Linked DNA regions of Homo sapiens: regions 2, 3, 4, 5, 6 and 7 are each linked to region 1. Evidence: promoter capture Hi-C in 16 types of primary human blood cells and fetal thymus (Javierre and others, 2016). All regions are on one chromosome and are shown on one strand. The core of a region is centred on a gene start or on the middle of the fragment in contact, and the rest is flanking DNA. Distances in the headings are between cores, read along the strand shown. Region 1 holds the start of RAPGEF2 (Rap guanine nucleotide exchange factor 2). Region 2 has its middle 290 kb from the start of MIR3688-1. Region 3 overlaps FNIP2 (folliculin interacting protein 2). Region 4 has its middle 270 kb from the start of MIR3688-1. Region 5 has its middle 260 kb from the start of MIR3688-1. Region 6 overlaps FNIP2 (folliculin interacting protein 2). Region 7 overlaps FNIP2 (folliculin interacting protein 2).

Evidence for each region. The method cuts DNA at HindIII sites, captures the fragments that hold promoters and counts their contacts. A CHiCAGO score of 5 or more calls a contact.
Region 2: a contact is called between a fragment that was not itself captured here and the fragment with the promoter of RAPGEF2 in region 1, in 1 of 17 cell types (endothelial precursors). The highest score is 5.2, in endothelial precursors.
Region 3: a contact is called between a fragment that was not itself captured here and the fragment with the promoter of RAPGEF2 in region 1, in 13 of 17 cell types (total B cells, neutrophils, megakaryocytes and 10 more). The highest score is 12.5, in total B cells.
Region 4: a fragment that was not itself captured here is called in contact with the fragment with the promoter of RAPGEF2 in region 1 in 1 of 17 cell types (endothelial precursors); the score reaches 6.8 in endothelial precursors.
Region 5: a contact is called between a fragment that was not itself captured here and the fragment with the promoter of RAPGEF2 in region 1, in 1 of 17 cell types (endothelial precursors). The highest score is 9.4, in endothelial precursors.
Region 6: a fragment that was not itself captured here is called in contact with the fragment with the promoter of RAPGEF2 in region 1 in 13 of 17 cell types (non-activated CD4 T cells, naive CD8 T cells, total B cells and 10 more); the score reaches 19.4 in non-activated CD4 T cells.
Region 7: a fragment that was not itself captured here is called in contact with the fragment with the promoter of RAPGEF2 in region 1 in 12 of 17 cell types (non-activated CD4 T cells, fetal thymus, naive B cells and 9 more); the score reaches 11.0 in non-activated CD4 T cells.

What each region holds. Positions count from the first base shown.
Region 1 is chr4:159,101,743-159,104,460 of GRCh38, forward strand. RAPGEF2 (Rap guanine nucleotide exchange factor 2) reads left to right here and starts at 1,337. Exons shown (of 30, transcript NM_001394067.2): 1 at 1,337-2,489. The coding sequence starts at 2,421. RefSeq lists an enhancer at 487-1,178 and silencers at 827-1,366, 1,497-1,716, 1,757-2,046, 1,795-2,089, 2,057-2,476. The HindIII fragment of the contact is 5,553 bases long and covers 1-2,718 here.
Region 2 is chr4:159,418,002-159,420,708 of GRCh38, forward strand. No RefSeq gene overlaps it. Among named protein-coding and RNA genes, the nearest start is that of MIR3688-1, 290 kb to the left of the region's middle. The HindIII fragment of the contact is 2,133 bases long and covers 379-2,511 here.
Region 3 is chr4:158,814,281-158,817,063 of GRCh38, forward strand. The region is part of intron 1 of FNIP2 (folliculin interacting protein 2); the gene reads left to right. Among named protein-coding and RNA genes, the nearest start is that of FNIP2, 47 kb to the left of the region's middle. The HindIII fragment of the contact is 7,790 bases long and covers 1-2,783 here.
Region 4 is chr4:159,400,748-159,403,824 of GRCh38, forward strand. No RefSeq gene overlaps it. Among named protein-coding and RNA genes, the nearest start is that of MIR3688-1, 270 kb to the left of the region's middle. RefSeq lists an enhancer at 576-1,775. The HindIII fragment of the contact is 2,281 bases long and covers 288-2,568 here.
Region 5 is chr4:159,383,666-159,386,575 of GRCh38, forward strand. No RefSeq gene overlaps it. Among named protein-coding and RNA genes, the nearest start is that of MIR3688-1, 260 kb to the left of the region's middle. RefSeq lists enhancers at 1-11, 12-585. The HindIII fragment of the contact is 1,455 bases long and covers 669-2,123 here.
Region 6 is chr4:158,777,047-158,779,844 of GRCh38, forward strand. The region is part of intron 1 of FNIP2 (folliculin interacting protein 2); the gene reads left to right. Among named protein-coding and RNA genes, the nearest start is that of FNIP2, 9.4 kb to the left of the region's middle. The HindIII fragment of the contact is 7,658 bases long and covers 1-2,798 here.
Region 7 is chr4:158,796,824-158,799,523 of GRCh38, forward strand. All of the region lies in intron 1 of FNIP2 (folliculin interacting protein 2), which reads left to right. Among named protein-coding and RNA genes, the nearest start is that of FNIP2, 29 kb to the left of the region's middle. The HindIII fragment of the contact is 4,816 bases long and covers 1-2,700 here.

The DNA of each region.
Region 1 (2,718 bases), core at 87-2,586:
TGGCGCTCAACTAAGAGGTGAAAGAGAAATATAGAGAAGCAGTTCCAGCAAGAGTAATATAAAAAGGTCTACAGATACAATTTGTAACTCAGATTCCCTTTCACAAGGTTGGGCAGGGACAGTCCCTTTGCTAGGAAGTCACACAAGCTGTTTAGTGCACACAGGTGACTTAAGGAACCCCAAAATGTTAGCTGACAATCTATTCCAAGTGTTTAAACTAGATGTTGAAAATCATGTTTGAAAAGTTCAACGCAGTAGCTCATACATAAAACTCATTGTGTCTATAGATATCAAAATAAGAACTTGTGGGGGGTGGGGGCAAACAAAAATAAATCCCTGGGACCAGAACAGCAGAGTGGTCCCCGATGCTTGGGCTGACCTTAACACACCTCTACGTGGCCGGGGCAAGGAGTGGGGGGGAGCTGAGGGAATCAGCAGGAGCGGTGACATCTTGAAGGACGAGGTATTGTTTCTGCACCATGTGGGTCCGGTTTGGAAATTTGAGCATCTAGAGGAGGAGGCTTGTTCTGTCCAAGGCAAAGCCAGACCTACCAATAAATGTTTCTGATTATGTCACAGAACTTGCCATCCTGGTCTGTCGCTAAGGAGTGATCAACTTTAAATCTGGAGTGTTTGTTGGTCTAGGGGTGGTAGTGGGTCTGGTGTTGAAACCTCTCTGCCTAATTTCGTGGTCATTTTACTGTCTGAGGTGCCAGAGTGGGCTTGGAAAGCAGGGGAGGGTGCAGCAAATTACAAATAAGCAAAATAAATCCTAAGAGGATTTATCGCCACAGAAGCAACTCGGACGCAACTCTTGGGCTCAAAAAGAATGCCCAGTACAGCCCGGGCTGGTGGGCCGGTCTTTTGCCCAAGGTTAGCTTTCAGCCCCTGGGCGGCGGCGTGGCGCCAGGAGCGGGCGGGGAGCAGCGACCCGACGCGGCTGGGTCTCCTAGTAGGGCGCGTCGGGTGTGGGGAGGGGGCGCGGCGTGAGACAGTGGGGGACACTGCGTGAGGAAAGCCCTGCGCTTCTCTCCGGGGCACCAGGACTTGCGCCCCCTCTTCGGGTCCAGGCCGCGCGCGGGACCCGACAGCCCGGCCGAGGGCTCCGCGACCCACTTGCGGCCAGAGCGCTGCTCACCTGGGCGCCGCCGAAGGTGCCGCTCAGACGCGAGGGCGCGGCCGCTGGCGGGCGGGGAGCGGGGAGGCGGGACCCGGCGCGACGGGGCTGCCCCGCCCCCCGATGATGCGGCGGCCGCCGACTCGCCCCCACGCTGTCACTCATTCCTCACCATGGTTGCAGCACAAAGCAACAAGCCCCAGAGGCCGCTTCCTCCCTGAGGAGCGGCTCCGGCGGCCGGAGAAGGCGCAGGAGGAGGAAGAGGCGGAGGAAGAGGAGGGGAATCGCCGCTTCCCAAACACTCTCTCCGAGGGGGCTGTGCGCGGCTCTCGGCTTTCGGCCCTCGGACGCCCGCGCCGGGAGTCCGAACCCGGGCTGTCCGCGGCCCCCTCTTCCCCCTCCTCCGCCCCGCGCAGACGAGGAACAAAGTTGCCGAGAGCGACTGGGCCGGAGGGCTGCAGCCCGGGCCGGGTGCTCTGGCCGCGGCGGCGCCGGCGCCGGGGCAGCTCCGCTCCGGGCGCGCTGATGGGGGGAGGCGGCGGCGGCGGAGCCCACAGCGGCGGCCCGAGCAGCAGAGGCGGCGGCGGCGGCGGCTGGGCGGCCCGAGGGGATGCAGCAGCAGTCGGGAGGGACGGCCGAGCCCAGTAGACAGAGACCAGGAGCGGCGGCCGAGGCGATCGGGCTTCGCAGCGCCCGGACCTGAGCCAGACCCACCTGGTCCGTCCTCCCGACCGGCGGCCGAGGCGCCCGAGGACTGGGGACGCGGAAGATCCAAGTGATTCTCGGAGACCCCTGGGCGGCGGCTGCGCAAGCCCCTGAGAGGAGGGGGCGACCCTCAGCGCCGTGGGGGAGGAGGCTCCGCCTGCCCACAGCCCTCCCCACTGCCACTCGTACCTCCCTAAAAATAACTCGGGCCCGCTGGGGCCAGGAGGAGCCGCCACTGTCCCCCGAGTGGAGCCGGGGAGGCGTGTCGAGCCAGGGCCGGAGGAAGCCGGCGGAGCGGCGAGGAAGAGGAGGAGGAGGAGGAAGGGGAGTTCCGCCTGCGGGCCGCATCGCACGGCAGCCTAGGGGCGCCGCGACCCTCCCGGCTGCGTCCAGCCCCTCGCGCCTGTACCGCGCTCTCGGCCGCCGGGCCCAGCCGAGCCGCCCCCCCGCGGGCCCCGCGCCGCCGCCGCCGCGGTTTGGCTGATTAGTCGCGGGCGGGCGGGCGGGCGCAGCGCGCAGGGCGGAGGCAGCAGCGGCGCTGGGCCGGGAGGAGGCCGGCCAGGGTGCGGAGCGGCCCCGGCCCGCTCCCAGAGGGGAGATGGCGTCCTACGTAGATAACAGCTTCCGCCAGGCGGTGATGAAGAATCCCCCCGAAAGGACCCCCCAGGTGAGAACGCGGCGGCCGCCTGCCCTTGGCCGGATTTCTGCCTCGCAGGCTGCGTCTTCCCCTGTCCCCCCACCTCCTTCCTGACACAGTTCGCCCCGAGCACCCCACTTCTTGCATCAGGACCCCCAACTTCCAAAGGCATCCCACCTCCGAGTCTTTTACTCCGCCTATCCTGGTTTTATTTTTCCCTCTCCTTGACATTCTGCTCCTTAACTCTTCCCTCCCCATG
Region 2 (2,707 bases), core at 195-2,694, 320 kb after region 1:
ATCCCAGCACTTTGGGAGGTCTTGGGGAGGTTGGATCATTTGTGGCCAGGAGTTTAAGACTAGCCTGGCCAACATGGCAAAACCCAATGTTTACTAAAAATAGAAAAAAATGTGCTGGGCAGAGTGGCACATTCCTGCAATCCCAGCTACTTGGGAGGCTGAGGCAGGAGAATTGCTTGAACCTGGGAGTCAGAGGTTGCAGTGAGCTTAGATCGCACCACTGCACTCCAGCCTGAGTGACAGAGTGAGACTCTGTCTCAAAAAACAAAACACAAAAAAACAAAAAACAAACCAACAACAACAACAAAAAAAACTAGAAGCCTACTAAGATTTCAAGGGAATTGTATTGCCAAAGAAATAACAAGCTTAGCTTGTAAAAGCTTGTTATTGCTGAATCCCAAACCAGTTCCAAAGTATGGCATACTGCCCAATCTACTTTAAATTTGGCCTTGGTAGTAACGGTTGAGAAAGTACCTTTTATTATGCACATCTGGGTCCCCAGAGGACATGAGAGTTATTTCCAGGTAGCAAACTGGGCTAAGCAGACTATTTCACTGCTACAGTAAATTCTTTGATTTTTCTGTCTAGCAGGATTTGATCACTCCTGTGCACCAGAGACCTCTCTGTATTTCCTACCTTTCCCTTATTGAATTGTTAAACAAAATGATAGGAAGCCATTGTTCTGAACTGACTTCTTGCACTAGGCGCTGACAGACCAAAACAAAATGAAACCATTCATGCTAAATGTTATGTGATCAAACTGAAACTTTTAAAAAGCAGATAAATCCCAAAATGGACCAGGTTTTTTTTTTTCTGTCTTCTTAAAACAGGAGATTCCAGCATAATAAGGAGGGCCCCTCTGCTCTATTCCTTACAAAAAGTAGTCTGAAACAACCATTTTTTCCCTATTGTTCTTTGTCCTTGTTCCCAGCTTACAAAACCCACTGTTCTATTTCCCAGTGGGATTTGAGACCAAATAAATGGATTTATAATGGTGAAAGAGTGAAGTCAATGCTTAAAGTTTTGGTCAATCTCTCAAAATTGCCTACAGCTACCTCCTTACATATTTTAAGTTCAGCCTAAATTTTCTCCATATATAGTGAACTATAATCCAGCTGAATGCATGAACAGACTGTAATCTACTCTTTTTTTTTTTTTGAGATGGAGTCTTGCTCTGTTGCCCAGGCTGGAGTGTAGTGGCGCGATCTTGGCTCACTGCAAGCTCCGCCTCCCAGGTTCATGCCATTCTCCTGCCTCAGCCTCCCAAGTAGCTGGGACCACAGACACCCGCCACCACACCCGGCTAATTTTTTTTTTTTGTATGTTTAGTAGAGACGGGGTTTCACCATGTTAGCCAGGATGGTCTGGATCTCCTGACCTCGTGATCCGCCCGCCTCGGCCTCCCAGAGTGCTGGGATTACAGGTGTGAGCCACCGTGCCTGGCCTGTAATCTACTCTTACACCAATCTCAGTTTTGGCCAGTCACAGGTGGTCAGCTGTTTAAACCATGTTCAAATAAAGCAAATGCCAGGCTGTAACCAATCTAACTGTTTCTGTACCTTGCCTTCTTTTTTCTGTCCTTAAGTATTATCTGACCATGTGGCATCCCCAGAGTTGTGCTGAACCTATTCTGAATTATTCTTTGCTCAGTTAAACTCTGTTAAATTTAATTATTTGCCTTAAGTTTTCCTTTTAACAAAAGTGGGAGTTTTATCATGGTTATCTTGTTTCTGCTCCATCCTTGGATATTGGATGTGGTGTGGAGTAGGGCAGGAAAATTGGGCAGATTAAAAATGTCTTTGGCCAAGCATGGTGACTCACACCTGTAAACTCAGCACTTTGGGATGCTGAGGTAGTAGGCTGTCTTGAATCCAGGAGTTCAAGACCAGCTTGGGCAACATAGTGAGGCCCCATCTCCATAAAAAATTTTTAAAAATTAGCCTGGTGTGATGGTGCACACTGGTAGTCCCAGCTACTCAGGAGGCTGTGGTGGGAGTATTGCTTGAGCCCAGGAGGTCGAGGCTGCAGTGAGCCATGATTGTGCCACTGCACTCCAGCCTGAGTGACACAGCGAGGGAGGAGGAAAGGAAAATAGTTTGGCAGACAGCTAAAGTTGGTCTTTGGTAAAATTCTTTTAAACAGAAAGACATCCTGAAGAATCAACCTACAGGCACGCATAAAGCCACCTGGGGAAATCTCAGGCTGTAGCTGCACAGATAAGAAAGCAAGGCCTAACATAGAAGCCTTCATTCTTAGTGTAATTGTGGGCTCCCAGGAAAAAGTTTCCTCCCCTTTTCAGGTATGTACACAGTGGGCTCTGGGGGAACTTGCATGGGGAGCAGGGGTTCTTACTCAAAACATACACACCATTGCACAAACAAGAGAAACTGCACTTTGTGCCTGCCTAAAGACGTGCTTTCAGCTGTACAGATAAGGGGAGTTACACAGACAGCTTCACAGATAAGGGAAGTTACACAAACAGCTGCAGAAATGAGGGGAGTTTCTTACAAAAGCTTTTGGATTCAGCTATAAAAATGGCAACCCACTTTTGGGCCCCCTCTCCGCTGCAGAGAGCGTTCTTTTGTTTATTAAACTTTCGTTCCAACTTCATCCTTGTGTCTATGCACCTTAATTTTCTTGGCCGTGAGACAAAGAACTCCAGGTACTACCTCAGACAACAAGACCGTAACATTGTAGTGCATTGGCA
Region 3 (2,783 bases), core at 12-2,511, 290 kb before region 1:
AGACTGATTTTAGTCCTGACTTAGCCACTTACTGGACATAACCTTGTTAAAGTCTCCTAACTTCCGTGTAAAACGTTATATAATACAGACTCTCACAGGACATTTGAGAAGGTCAGCTCAGTTGAATTCTGTAAAAGTGTTTGGTAAACTCTAAAATATTAGGCAATTATTTGTGCATGTGCTGTGCAGTTCTTATCACCAGCCTTCCCCTGCCTACATGCAAACACCAGACCTTCTGGAATTGGTGTCTCTAGGCTCTGCATGAATTATGCAGTAAAAAAGGCAGTTATTTAATATGATGGGAATCCATCTGATACACCACTAGAACAGCAATCATAAACTGAAAGACATACATGGGTTTAATCAATGAGAAAAGGGGTTGCTTTTTTAGAGAGAAACTTTCTCCTGTCTTTGGGGGAGGGAGGGGATGAAGGACAGGAAAATGTAGTGTACAAGTGTTGAGAAGAAAGCTCAATAAATGCCATTGTCTAGGCCAAACTACATATTTGAAAACTGAATCTGAATGCCTGGAATTCATTAAGGTGGTTTCCCTGTAGGAGTTCACCCACTGCCTCATGCTTTAGCTACCAAGAAGCCTCTTAAAGGAAACAGTAGTTAAGGGCTTGTCTTAAAGCAATGATAGATTCTTTGGGTTTAAAAAAATAGGGTGTTCCTGTTGTAGTCCTCATCTTTGTTGTTTGTTTTTACTTTTTCAAGAGACAATACAGTCACACGGCTTAATATTCAAAAGGCACAAAATTGTGGTGCATGTTTAGAGCACAGTCAGCGTGCCTGACTCCGTGTTAAGTGCTTTACATTTAGTCACCAAAACAGCACTTGTAAGGTTGGTACTATTATATTATCTCCATTTTGCAGATGAGGCTGTTGAGGAACAAAGAGATTAGGTAACTCACCAAAGTTACATAGCTAGGAAGAGGCAGAGGTAGGACCTGAGCCCAGGATGTCTGGGTCCAGTCTACACTCCTTCTCACTATGCTGTTTTGATGGATGTTTATTACATGGTGCAGAGAAAGCCTTTCCCTTTGCTCTGTAAAGAGTGTAGAATGAAAAGTCTTCTGCTTTCTTTTTCATCAGTAATCCAGCTTTTTTTTTTTTTTTTGAGACGGAGTCTTGCTCTCTCGCCCAGGCTGGAATGCAGTGGCGCCAGCTCCGCTCACTGCAAGCTCCGCCTCTCGGGTTCACGCCGTTCTCCTGTCTCAGCCTCCCGAGTAGCTGGGACTACAGGCGCCCGCCACCACGCCCAGCTAATTTGACGGGGTTTCACGTGTTAGCCAGGATGCTCTTGATCTCCTGACCTCGTGATCCGCCAGCCTCGGCCTCCCAAAGTGCTGGGATTAGAGGTGTGAGCCACCGCGCCCGGCCCAGTAATCCAGCTTTCTACTCCAGAGTCAACTAGTATTACCAATTCATTGTTTTTCTTCTAGAGATAGTCTATACGTGTATAATAAAACCCAGAGTTCTTTACCTCCAATTTTTCCTTTTTCTAGACTTATGGTAGCTTTCTATACACAATATTTTATACTTATTTTCGTTCCAGTCAAAAATATGTCTTGGAGTTTATTACATACTTACCTAAGGAGCTTCCTTATTCTTTGCTGTGTCAGTATAGCACTCCCTTGTATGGATGTACCATAATTTATTTAATCATCCTGCTGACAATTTGTTTCCAAACAGTGCTGCAGTCATTACCTTTTTGTACATAATCATTTTGTGCCTGTGCAAATTAATCTGTAGGATTCATTCCTAGAAGTGAACTTGCTGGGTCACGAGTATATATATATATATTTATTTTAACCTATCTCTTTTAGAGATAGTATTTTACAACCCAAAATAGGTGACAATTGTCTATTTATTTTGGTTCTTTCATCTTGCAAACGAGAGACCTTACACAGAGAATCATGCTTTTGACCTCTGGAAACTTCTTGGAAAATGGAAGTATTACCTTATCTGCATACGGTTTAATTAGATCTAGAAGTGAATAACATATAAGGCAATGTCTTGGGTATTTACTTTGAAATTTATTCCGTTGTCTATTATTAGTATATGATTTCCCAAAATGAGGGAGGGGAAAGATATGAAATCATCTTGATGCATGTTACCTTTTATAATTGCAGACCAATATGTATTTCAGTAATCCAGGAATATAATAATGTGTTGACGGCTTTGATTATGCTGACAAGGGTGTAAAAGAATTAGCTCGGCCAGGCGCAGTGGCTCATGCCTGTAATCTCAACACTTTGGGAGGCCAAAGCAGGCGGATCAGTTGAAGTCAGGAGTTCGAAACTAGCCTGGCCAACATGCTGAAACCCCCTCTCTACTAAAAATACAAAAAAATTAGCCAGGTGTGGTGGTGGGCGCCTGTAATCCCAGCTACTTGGGAGGCTGAGGCAGGAGAATCGCATGAACCCAGGAGGTGGAGGTTGCAGTGAGCCGAGATTGCACCACTGCACTCCTGCCTGGGAGACAGAGTGAGACTCTGTCTCAAAAAAAAAAAAAAAAATTAGCTCAGTGATTATTGAATTAATATATGCATGGAGATGAACAGTAAAGCTCTTTTTTTTTTGTCAGTTTGGCTATTTTTAAGTACAAGTAGTTTCTAGTTTATAGATATCAGAAAAGAATAAATAATGTGCATTTAAGAATTAAGGGAACCATTTTGGGGAAAAATGGGCCATTTATAGAGATTCTATGGGGGTTTTTTGTTTTGTTTTTGTAGAGTCAGAATCTCACTATATTGCTCAAACTCCTGGATTCAAGCGATC
Region 4 (3,077 bases), core at 178-2,677, 300 kb after region 1:
ATTAGACTAACTAGTGAAACCTTCTCACAGGCTTCTTTTTTACAGACTGAGATAATGTTTCGCTCAAAGATGCTGCTGGATGAGGCAGACCATTTTAATCACAGTGAAGCTTCCCCCCCAGGCTTTCGCTGCCTCTCCCACCTTGTGGGGACCTGCCTGGGAGAAGTTTCACACGCGCCCCCGCTCCACCTCCCACCCTGCAGAACTGCTGCTGGCTGGACGCTGGCTGCACCTTCTCGTTGAGAACAGCTGCTGGCTATTTCCTCATTTCTAAACTTCCGAGGACAAGCTTGGAGTGCAGCTAAGCCTTTGGAGATGCTGCAGCTACTGTTCTGATCCTGGGAGGTGCATTTCTGAGGCGGACAGTCAGCACTGACAAGACAAGTTGGAGGGAACGAGCTGGCTGAGGGCTGGGGAGCAGCCCCTCTCCTTGGAAGAACTCTGATGGGAAACAGATGCTAAGAAGGGATTTATGGTTTATTCCAAGGACAGATGAGATAAGTTGTGGATGCACATGATTTTGTGGGGGAAGCAGGGGAGACCCAAGCGGGACACAGCCAGCCTAGCCCGTCAGCAATGAGAAAGTGTCCTTGGGTCTAGATGGGTGTGCCTGGGAGCAGGGCTTGGATCTTAGGCATTGACGGTCACCATCTGCAGGACAGGGGCCACCAGTCCATGGATATCTGATCTTCTTAGGGTCCCTGGAAACAAGGGGGACAAAATGCCTGAAGGCTTCCTGCTGCTCACTCCTCCCCTCTGAGTCCCTCTTCCTGACCTGCTCCACACCCTCTGTTCTTCCTCTCCCGCCTGCTTCTCTTTTCTTGCCTTCTCTCCACCCCTTCTTGAGTCTGCTCTGTTTATTTCATTTCCTTTTTAAAATGTTGTCAGCATCCTTTAGCTAAGGACAGCCATCAGTATCACTATTCTGTGTTATTTTTCTCAGGTAAAATGCTATTTTGTTTAGTAACCAACCCTGCCCAGCCCCCCACTCCCCGTCATGCTTCCTCTATTTTTACCCCGCACAGCCAGCAGCAAGACTGGGGCAGGAATACAGAGAGCACTCTGGGTTCTCCCCCAGCCTGAGGCCCTCCCTCGGCAGGACCCAAGGAGCACTACACAGCCCAAGGGCTCTGATAATCCACCAGGCCCCATCCCTCCATTCTCTCTTTGTCTCCGATACAAATTGCCTGGCACCAGTGCCCTAGAGCAGGCTATAATGAGAGGTGATTATCCCATCCCTGCAGGAGAGCCCTGGGACAAATCCTCCAGCACTTATGGACCTGTTTACTTCAGTTACTACTGAAAGTCCAAGTCCAAGCCTTCAAGGTCAACCTTCATTACTCCTACCGTTTTTCCCATGGGGTTCAGAACATTCTCTCATCCGACTCATGCTCCCACACCTCTGTGACCCTCAGTCATTCCTCTGAGCCTCTGGAATTCAGAGTGTGTCATCAGTACAATTTCCTGTCTTCGTTCTCATCTGGGAACATTTCCTTCACCTTCTTGTTTAACTCTGAGCTTTCCCATGCAGCCACTATTACCCATATGTGGCTGTTGAACACTTGAAATGTGACTAGTCCAGATTGAGATGCGGTATCAGCATAAACACATACTGGATTTTGAAGACTTCATATGAAAAAAGGAACTTAAACTATCTTGAAGGATACTTAGGTGGGTATAAGATTCTGTGCTGACGGGGCGCGGTGGCTCATGCCTGTAATCCCAGCACTTCGGGAGGCTGAGGTGGGCGGATCACCTGAGGTCAGGAGTTTGAGACCAGCCTGGCCAACATGGCGAAACCCCATCTCTACTAAAAATACAAAAAATAGCCGGGCTTGGTGGTAGGCACTTGTAATCCCAGCTATTCAGGAGGCTGAGGCAGGAGAATCACTTGAACCCAGGAGGCGGAGGTTCCAGTGAGCTGAGATTAGTAATTAACTAGGCCCAATGCACCACTGCACTCCAGCCTGGGCAACAAGAGAGAAACTCCGTCTCAAAAAAAAAAAAAAAAAAAAAAAAAAAATTCTATGCTGTCAGTTCTTTTCTTGTAGCCCTTCAAAAATGTGGTTGTCACTTCCTTTTGGTCTCCATGGTTTCTCATGACAATATGTTGTCTATATTGTATTAAGTAAAATATGTTATTAAATTGTTTACCTATTTCTGTTTGATTTAAAGAAATGTGGCTAGTAGAAAATTTAAAATTATGTATGTGGTTCACATTATATTGCTATCAGATAGTGCTGCTTTGGCCAGGTGTGATGGCTCATGACTGTAATCTCAGCACTTTGGGAGGTTGAGGCAGGAGGATTGCTTGAGGCTAGGAGTTCGAGACCAGCCGGAGCAACAAAGTGAGACTGTCTCTACAAAAAAATAGCCCATGCCATTCTGTAGTCCTAGCTACTTGGGAGGCTGAGATGGGAGGATTGCTTGAGCCCAGGAGATTGTGGCTGCAATGAGCTATTATTGTGCCACTGCACTCCAGCCTGGGTGACAACAGAGCAAGACCCTGTCTCAACAACAACAACAACAACATAGTGCTGCTCTGACTGAGGTCTGGCTGCCCTTGAAAGCTTAGCTTCTTCAGAAGCCCTCTCACACATGGCTGGTCCTTTCCTCATGCTCTCTGTTCAGACAAGGCCTAGAGGTGGGGCAGGTAGCTCCTGGCTCCCCATTGCTCTTTCCAAGCCATTGGTCATAGTATTTCCTAAAACAGTTTTGATCTTCTGAAACTCATGCCATCAAACTAGACCTGCCTTTACCTCTTCACATTGCAATTCTCTACCATTCTCCTGGTTACTCCTTCCCCTCTTATTGACGATCTTCGTGTCCGGTTCACTGTTGTTCCTACCATCTTGACTCTGGGCATCATTCTTGTCATTGGCATGCCCCTAGATAGTCCATCAACACCCTGGCCTCTCTGTTCACTGTTTTCCTCACTTATAATGATATGTCCTCCATCATTATATCCTCAGCCACCTACTTTAATGGTCGTATCTTTGTCATCGCCTATGGTTTCACAACCTCCAAAATCTTAATTTCAAGCGTCCCAGTCTTTGAATTCTATCTCTTATGTTTAT
Region 5 (2,910 bases), core at 146-2,645, 280 kb after region 1:
TTAGAGGTCGTGGGAATGCCTCTCCATCTGAATGGAAAGAAATTGGTTTTAAATTATTAGATGGCCAAAGGCTTATAGAGAGTGGAGTTAGAGAAGCAGCTTATGACCTTCACCTACACTTGAACTGGAATGGTAATCTACATTTCCAAAGGCACTAAGCGTTCCAATTTAAATTTCTGTGGTGACACTTGAAAAGATTGATCATTCTATCCTGAGAGGAGATGAAGGAATGAGGGTGAGGGGTTATGAGCAGGCAACACTGCCTGCTCAGTAGGAGCTGACAATCAACTAGGATAGCCCCAATTTCCTGTTGCAATATTTAACTCACTTTTGTGTTTACATTTGATAAACACAAGTTTAGAGATTCAAGAATTAGAACATCTCTTGTCTCACTCCAGCTACAAATATTGATTAAAATGGGAAAGATTGTTTATTGTAAATTGCATTTATCTTCATGATGTGGGAACAATGTAGGTTTTCAATGAATGCTTCTTTGTGTGTGAAAGATATGTGAATAAACCAATTTCAATTTTTTTTTAATTTTTAATTATTAATTTTAAATTGACAATAATAATTGCATAATATTTATGTGGTACAATGATGTCTTAATGTATGTGTGCATTGTGGAATGAGCAGACCAGGCTAATTAACATATTCATCACCTCACAAGCTTATCATTTCTCTGCAGGGCAAACATTTATAAACTACTCTTTTGGCAATTTTAAAATATACAATACATTATTGTTAACTGTAGCCACTTTGATATGCAATAGATCACTAGAACTTATTCTTCCTAACTAAAACGGCCTAATTTCGAAATTCTGAAATCTTACTTTACATTTTACTTTGTATTTTTAGAATGTAATATCTTTGAAGGCAGTGATATGTTTCCTTCAAAGACTTTAATGAATGCAGTGTGTCAAAAATACACTGATTAATGTGGATACATAATAATGATGTCACAGTTTTGTCAGGCTCATAGTCTCCCCTATTGAATAACATAAACCTGAGAAAATGATGAGATAAAGCTGATTTTTTTCAAGATGAGAAGGAAGAAAATTTGGATATTTAAGAATTTAAAATAAAATGACAAATTAATCCTTCAGAATTATGTTTGAGAATGCTAAAAATTAGCCTTTCTTGAGTAAAAAACAAAAGTGTATGTCAGAAGAGACCTCTTGTGTGTATAATAGCTTACTGCAGTTTCTTTAAAAAAAAAAAATCCACTTCTGGAAGATAGAATGAATATACTATTCCCAAAGCCCAACCCTTAAGGAGGCCAATGCCTTATCCATTGAATGAATGTACTATTCCCTATTGCTTTCACAAAGTACAACTACAAACCCTAGACTTTACATATTAAACAAGCATATGATGACTCTGAAAGGTGGAGAAGGCTGACTGGCTGGAGACCACAGGACCAGAGGCAGTGTGTTCCCTGGGTTTTCTTTTTAACTCACATATCCCAGACTCATAGATAAAGAAACTCGTAACCCCGAAATACCAATGAATGCACGCCAAACAAAACAAAACAAAACAAAAATTACCAAAAGCCTGCCCTCTCCAGCTGAAAGAACAAGAGATGGGTAGCTAATGAGACAGATAATGATTAGACAGGCTGGGCGCAGTGGCTCACGCTTGTAATCCCAGAACTTTGGGAGGCCAAGGTGGGTGGATAGCTCGAGCTCAGGAGTTCAAGACCAGCCTGCTGGGCAACATAGCAAGACACCATCTCTATTTAAAAAAAATATATGTACACACACACACACACACACACACACACACACACACACATAAAAATACATATATGAGACAAAGATTGGACAATAACTGCTCCACTCCAGCCAAACACCACAGAAAAAATGTTAGCCCCACTCCCAGTGAAAGCTCAAGAGGAAGCAGACTTGCACTGTCCCCAGGATGTAATGGCAGTAGCACCAGCCTCCACCTCCCACTCTCTCACTGGACAAGTGTCAGAGAAAACTGAGTAGGGAGATGGAACTTTCATCCCTCTCATGCAGTGTCAGTGGATACCACATGGATTTCCACACCTATCCAGTGGTAATGAGATGCCTTTGCCCCTTCCTTCTAGGGTGGCCTCAAAGGAGACCTACTGGAGACAAAGCTTTCACCTAAGCCACTTCTCCAACATAATGTCAGGCCAAGAGGGGAGCAGTAATAAGGTTCTTCTACCCCTCCCAGCCAGGAGTAGAGGCTGAATGCGAAGCAGGACTTCCACTCTCACCTAACAGTCATGAGTAGCCCCTCCCCTCAGGTCTCAGTGGGAGCCAGGTGGGAACCTGAAACTTGACCTCATCTGGCAGTAATCAGGCAGCTCACTCCCCACTCCCATTTTCCTTTGCAAGAAATTTAAATAAGATCCCAAACCTCAATATAATACACAAATATCTAGGTTTTAATAGAAAAATCACTCATACCAAGAATAAAGAAGACCTCAAACTGAATGAAAAAAAGATAATAAATAGATCCTAACACTGAAACGACAGCAATGTTAGAATTATCTGATAAAGGTCTCAAGGAAATCATCATATGTTTCAGTAAGCATTATAAACATGCTTGAAACAAATAAAAAATAGACAGTATTATATCAGCAAAGAAATAAAAGATATACAAAAAGATAAATGAAAAGTTTAGAACTGAAAAATATAATAGCTAAAATTCAGTGAATGGACTCAAAACAGTATAGAGGGGACAGAGGAAAGAAATAATGAACTTGAAGATAGGACAATAGAAATTACCCAATCTGAAGAACAGAGAGAAAAAGATTGAAAAACAAACAAACAAAAAAAAAGAACAAACCTCAGGGAATTATGGGACTATAAAGATTTAACATTCTTGGTATCAGAGTTCTAAAAGGAGAAGAGTAAGAGGATGGAGCTCAAAAAATAT
Region 6 (2,798 bases), core at 299-2,798, 320 kb before region 1:
AAAAAACCTTTAAGAAGACACTTGCCTAAGTAATATATCAGAGATCCAGTTATGAAATCCCACAGCTGTCAGAAATGACCTACTGAAAAATGATTTAAATATTTATGAAGCTATGAAATTGTTAGCTGTGGGTTGATGATGTAGAACTCTTCTCTATATACTTTTCAGATTCATTTGAATTCTTGTATGGCTTGGTAAAACTGAAATACATTATGGAATGAAATGAGCAAATTGGTTCTCTCAAATTTAAGATAATAGTACACTTAATTGTGAAAACAATATTGATATTCTGAACCCTGCGAAGACTATATTTGCATGTTAAATGAAGTAAGCACTTTAGAAAAAAGATGGAATCATCTCTGCTTTCCATGTATGATTTTTCCATTTGAGAAACTAATTTAGAAATGGATTTGCGAATCTGACATGTTCTTTAAAAAGAATGTGCCAGACTAACATATCATTAATGGTGGCCTACCCTGTGTGAGGAGGTGAGCCATGAGTAAACATTTTCTCCAAGCATATCAGGCAATGACTGTTTGCTTTAGAATGGTACATTGAGTAAGTTAGTTGCTAGGGCAGAAGGGGGCGGCCGGAACTACTGGCCCTGCCCTACCCAGAGGGCAGAGATGGACCCCTGGTAGCCACTTGGTGCTGAGTGCACAGGCTCCACGGAAGACCATGTGGACGCTGGTAACTGGCCCTGCAGTGGGGTTGCCATATATTGCTTAGTGCCATGTGTACCTGAGAAATTGCTTATACATGAAATTATGATTTTATTTTAAGATTTTTTCAAACATATCTGGTTAAAAGTTCATATAAAATATGTTGAAATGTAAGCCTTTTCACACCCCAATCCCCCTTCCCAAAGGCTACCATTGCTGTACCAGTTTCTTTCGTATCCTTTTGGAAATACTCTATGCAAATACAGGAAAAAAAATTCTTTCCCTCAGACAGAGTGGTAGTTGCTGCCTACACTGTTCATCATTTTGCTAAAAGTTGCTTTGTATTCCTTTGAATAAATTCATGTATAACACTTAACCCAGTAGTTCTCAAGTCTGGTCAGACACTAAAGTCACCTAGAGAGCTTTAAATGTCCAGACTGCTTCTCAGAGATCTTGATTTAATAGATCTGGGCTGGGGCTTTATGTTTGTCTTCATGAAACTCTCCTTGGGTAATTTGCATATGCAGCCAAGCACACTACAATAGTCTTCCCTTATCTGAGGTTTCACTTTCTGCTGTCAACCTCAGTCTGACAATATTAAATCAAAAATTCAAGAAATGGAGCAACTCTGGGTGCACTGCCTGTGAGTTAGCTCTGCTCTGCAAGGAGCAGTACCATTTAAAAAAGAAGAAAGAAGATTCCAGAAATAAACAATTCCTAAGTTTTGAATTGCACACCATTCTGAGTAGCACAATGGAATCTCCACTGTCACTTCATCTTATCATATAGGCATTTGTCATCTCACATCATCTCAAGGAGAAGGAGGGTGACTATAGTATGATGAGATATTTCCTGAGAAAGAGATCACGTTCGCATAACTATGATTATAGTATATTATAATTGTTCTATTTTTATTATTAGTTATTGTTGTTAATCTCTTACTGTGCCTAATTTATAAATTAAACTTTATCATAGGTATGTATGGGAAAAAACATAGTATATACAGGGTTTGGCATTAAGCACTGTTTCAGGCATCCACTGGAAGTCTTGAAAGGTATCGCCTGTGGATAAGAGGGCACTACTGTAATTTTACCAGTCCTCTACTGATGGAGTATTTACTTTCAGGCTTTATTGTTAGAAATGGTGAACTTCCTGGTTGAAAGATTCTTATGCCATAAGCTCAAGTATATTTCCAGGATGAGAACCCAGGTTGGAATTTCTGCCAAACCGCACTCCAGAGAGGTTGCACCTGTTTATACGCCTACTAACAGCATATGATAGCGGCTGTTTAGTGGAGATGATTTAAAGTACCCTGAAGAAATAGCAGTGGTAGGGTGGTGGGGAAACTTGGACCCTAGCTCATTCTTAGTAGTTGTTGATCACTTGTCTAGTTCAACATGTGTGCAGATTGTTAAACTCTTTTACAGCTCAATTTGGCTGTGCTTTCCAGACTTAAAAATGCTCATACTTTTTTGACTCAGTAACTTAAGAGAAAAAACTTTTGTGCATGAAAATGTTTAAAAAAACAAATGTTTGTGCACAAAGATGTTCTTTATATATTATCATTATAATGTTAAATAAAAGGATCTTAACAATTGTCCAGCAGCAGGGAAGTATCTAAATTGTTATGTCAGCTTTGTAGGATAGTAATATAATAGTTAAATGATTATGAAGACAGTGTTAATATAAAATGTTTATGTTAAATGAAAACAACCAGCAACAGTTGGTATCTACAAGATGAATATATTAGTAAAATATGCAAATGTATGACCAAGAACTAGAAAGAAAAACAGAAAAATAATAAAGAACAGTTGACATTATGGGGTGATGAGATTGTGGGTAAATATCCTTTGTTGGTCGTGGTTTTTTTTTTTTTTTTTGAGATAGAGTCTCACTCTGTCACCCAGGCTGGAAGCAGTGGTACAATCACAGTTCACTGTAGCCTCAACCTCCCGGGCTTAAGTGACCCTCCCACCTCAGCCTCCCAAGTAGCTAGGACCACAGACAGGCATGCACCACCATACCCACCTTTTTTTTTTTTTTTTGTAGAGACGGGAGCGGGGGTGGTCTCACTGTGTTGCCCAGCGTAGTCTTGAACTCCAGGGCTCAAGTGATTCCCCCACCCTGAGCCTCCCA
Region 7 (2,700 bases), core at 28-2,527, 300 kb before region 1:
GGATGACTAGGCCAGAACTAGACTTAACTCTTGCCTTGTCGTCCAAGGTTCTGTTCCCTGGTATGACACCCTCTCTCAGCAGGGACCCTGCTGACAGTGACTACGCGCTGGTGGCTGGCGTCTCCTGAGTTCCTTGTACTCAGCCTGATCATGAGGAACTGACTCAGAGAAATGAGAGTCTGCTGATTCAGAGCTGAATATCCTTTCCCAGTCTTTCATTTCCCAGCTTTCTCTTCTCCTAAATTGATTTCTGTCAGCTCCCAAGCAGCTTTCTTAGTTGTCGTAGCTATTAGAACTCTTAGAGCACTTTAAGAGTCTTTCTGACTTAATTTACTAGCAATGAATGTATTGCATGAGAAACCTTTAATTATAGCTATATTTTGGGTAGGTATCACTATTTTTGCCTGTCAAACCAAAACTGAAGGAGAACTGTCACTAACTTAACCTCTACATAGATTTCCTTTAATAATTCTCATTGACTTTGTTATTCTGTTATACACATTGACTTCCATTGAATGGATTTGTAGCAGGCCAAGAATGAGTGAGATACCAGTACGAAGGCTATTACGGTAGTCCTGGCAAAACACTGGGCTTTGCTGGGCATGGTGGCTCACACCTATAATCTTAGCGCCTTGGGAGGCTGAGACGGGCAGATTGCTTGAGCCCAGGAGTTTGAGACTAGCCTGGGCAACATGGTGAGACCCCATGTCTACAAAAAACACAAACATTAGCCAGGTATGGTGGCGCATGCCTGTAGTCCCAGCTACTCAGGAGGCTGAGGTGGGAGGATTGTTCGAGCCTAGAGGTCGAGGCTGCAGTGAGGTGTGATCTTGCCACTGCACTCTAGCCTGGGTGTCAGAGCAAGACCCTGTCTCAAAACAAAACAAAACAAAACAAAAAACCCCAAATCCACCAGGCTTCGATTAGGGTGGTAGCAGTGGAATTTGGGATGGAAGCTGCCATCTCTCCACTGGCATGAGTCAAGAGGGAGCCAGGAGTGCCACAGGCTCCAGAGAAAACTTCTTGCCCAGCCTTCCTATCACTAGTGTTGAGAGAAGAGAGGGGCTTCTGGCAAGACCTTCTCCCACACCACTGGGAGACCTGTTACTCCATCACCACATCTGCTTTGAGACTGTTGGCACACTAATTTCATTTTCCTCTTTATCCTGTTTACAACTATTTACACTGACAGCCTTTAAAACACCAAGGCTTCTAGGTTTTTTTGTTTTTGTTTAAATTTTTGTTGTTGTTGTTTTTTAGAGACAGGGTCTTGCCCTGTCACTCAAGCCAAAGCGCAGTGGTGTGATTATAGCTCACCGCAGCCTCAAACTCCTGGGCTCAAATGATCCTCCCACCGCAGCCTCTTGAGTAGTTAGCATTACACGCACGCACCACCATGCCTGATTACTTTTAAATTTCTTACAGAGACAGGGTCTTGCTGTGTTGCCTAGGGAGCTCTCAAACTCTTAAACTGAAGTGATCCTCCCACCTCGGCCTCCCAAAGTGCTGGGATCACAGACGTGAGCTACCACACCTGGCCCTTCTAGATTTTTTCTTAATCCAAGTCTTTACTCTCCATATATAAGAGATGGATAATTAGATAAGTTTCCCTCCCACTGAATATTCCCTATTGCTTACCCTTCCCCTGCTTCATCTTCTGCTATAGCACTCACCATTTGTTTTGGCACACTGAATATTTTTCTGAATTATTGATTTTCTTCTGCCACTATCATGTAAACTTCATAAAGGTGGCAGGGGTTTGGTTCATGTATCATCAGCATCCTAACAGGGTCTGGCACATGAAATATTTGAAAAGATGAAGTGAGTGGAGTTTTAAGTCTTTAGATAGCACATTTTAAAAGTGAGTTCATAAATTATTCTACAAAAGCAATGAAATGCCTTTATAAACTGGAAGAATGTCAGATGTTCTTTGTTTTGTTTAATCCCATTTGGTGGCTTGTGTAATTATAACACAGATTAATGAATAACTCTTAGTAATTCCAAAATTACCCTAATGGCAATAATATGTATTTGTATGATGCCATTTACAGTAGCCTGAATGAATTTTTTATTCCTCTGTCAGATAAATAGTTGTATCTCAATGTTATAAATGTTAAAAATTATAAATGCTTAAAAATGTTGTAAATGTAAGAGAGAAGGCTATTCACAAAAACATTCCTTTCCAGGAAAACAGAGACCAGTCTAGTGTGAGACATAGGTGTGTAGTTGGTTAGAGCAAGGCATATGAGAAGGTACAGAATGATGAGAAGGTTTTACCTTCATGCCCATGAGGTGGCTAAATTGTCAGTAGTAGTTTTGGGCATGTGAGCTGCTGCTTCTCAATACTGACAGCATTTTAGGGGACTGGACTTTGTACAGCTCTGCATTGCCTGCTGAGGAATCCAGGCATCAGCAACAGAAAGTTCCAAAGCATTAACAGAAGATTTAATTATGTTATAGCTGTACATCCAAATGGAAGGGAGCTGGAGATAGCCAAGAGTTCTCTGCTAGGTGTTTTTCAGACATGCTTCTCATGAATTAAATAATTTTAGTCCTGATGTGGAGATTGGGAGCACTGAAAAGTGGTACTACCATAGAGCAGTTTTCTGTGATGAAGTAGGTAGAGTAAGCAAATGTGTTACATAAGAATTTCTGCAGCAACTCTTCCAGACACCTTCTACCTTACTTGATAACAGAGTG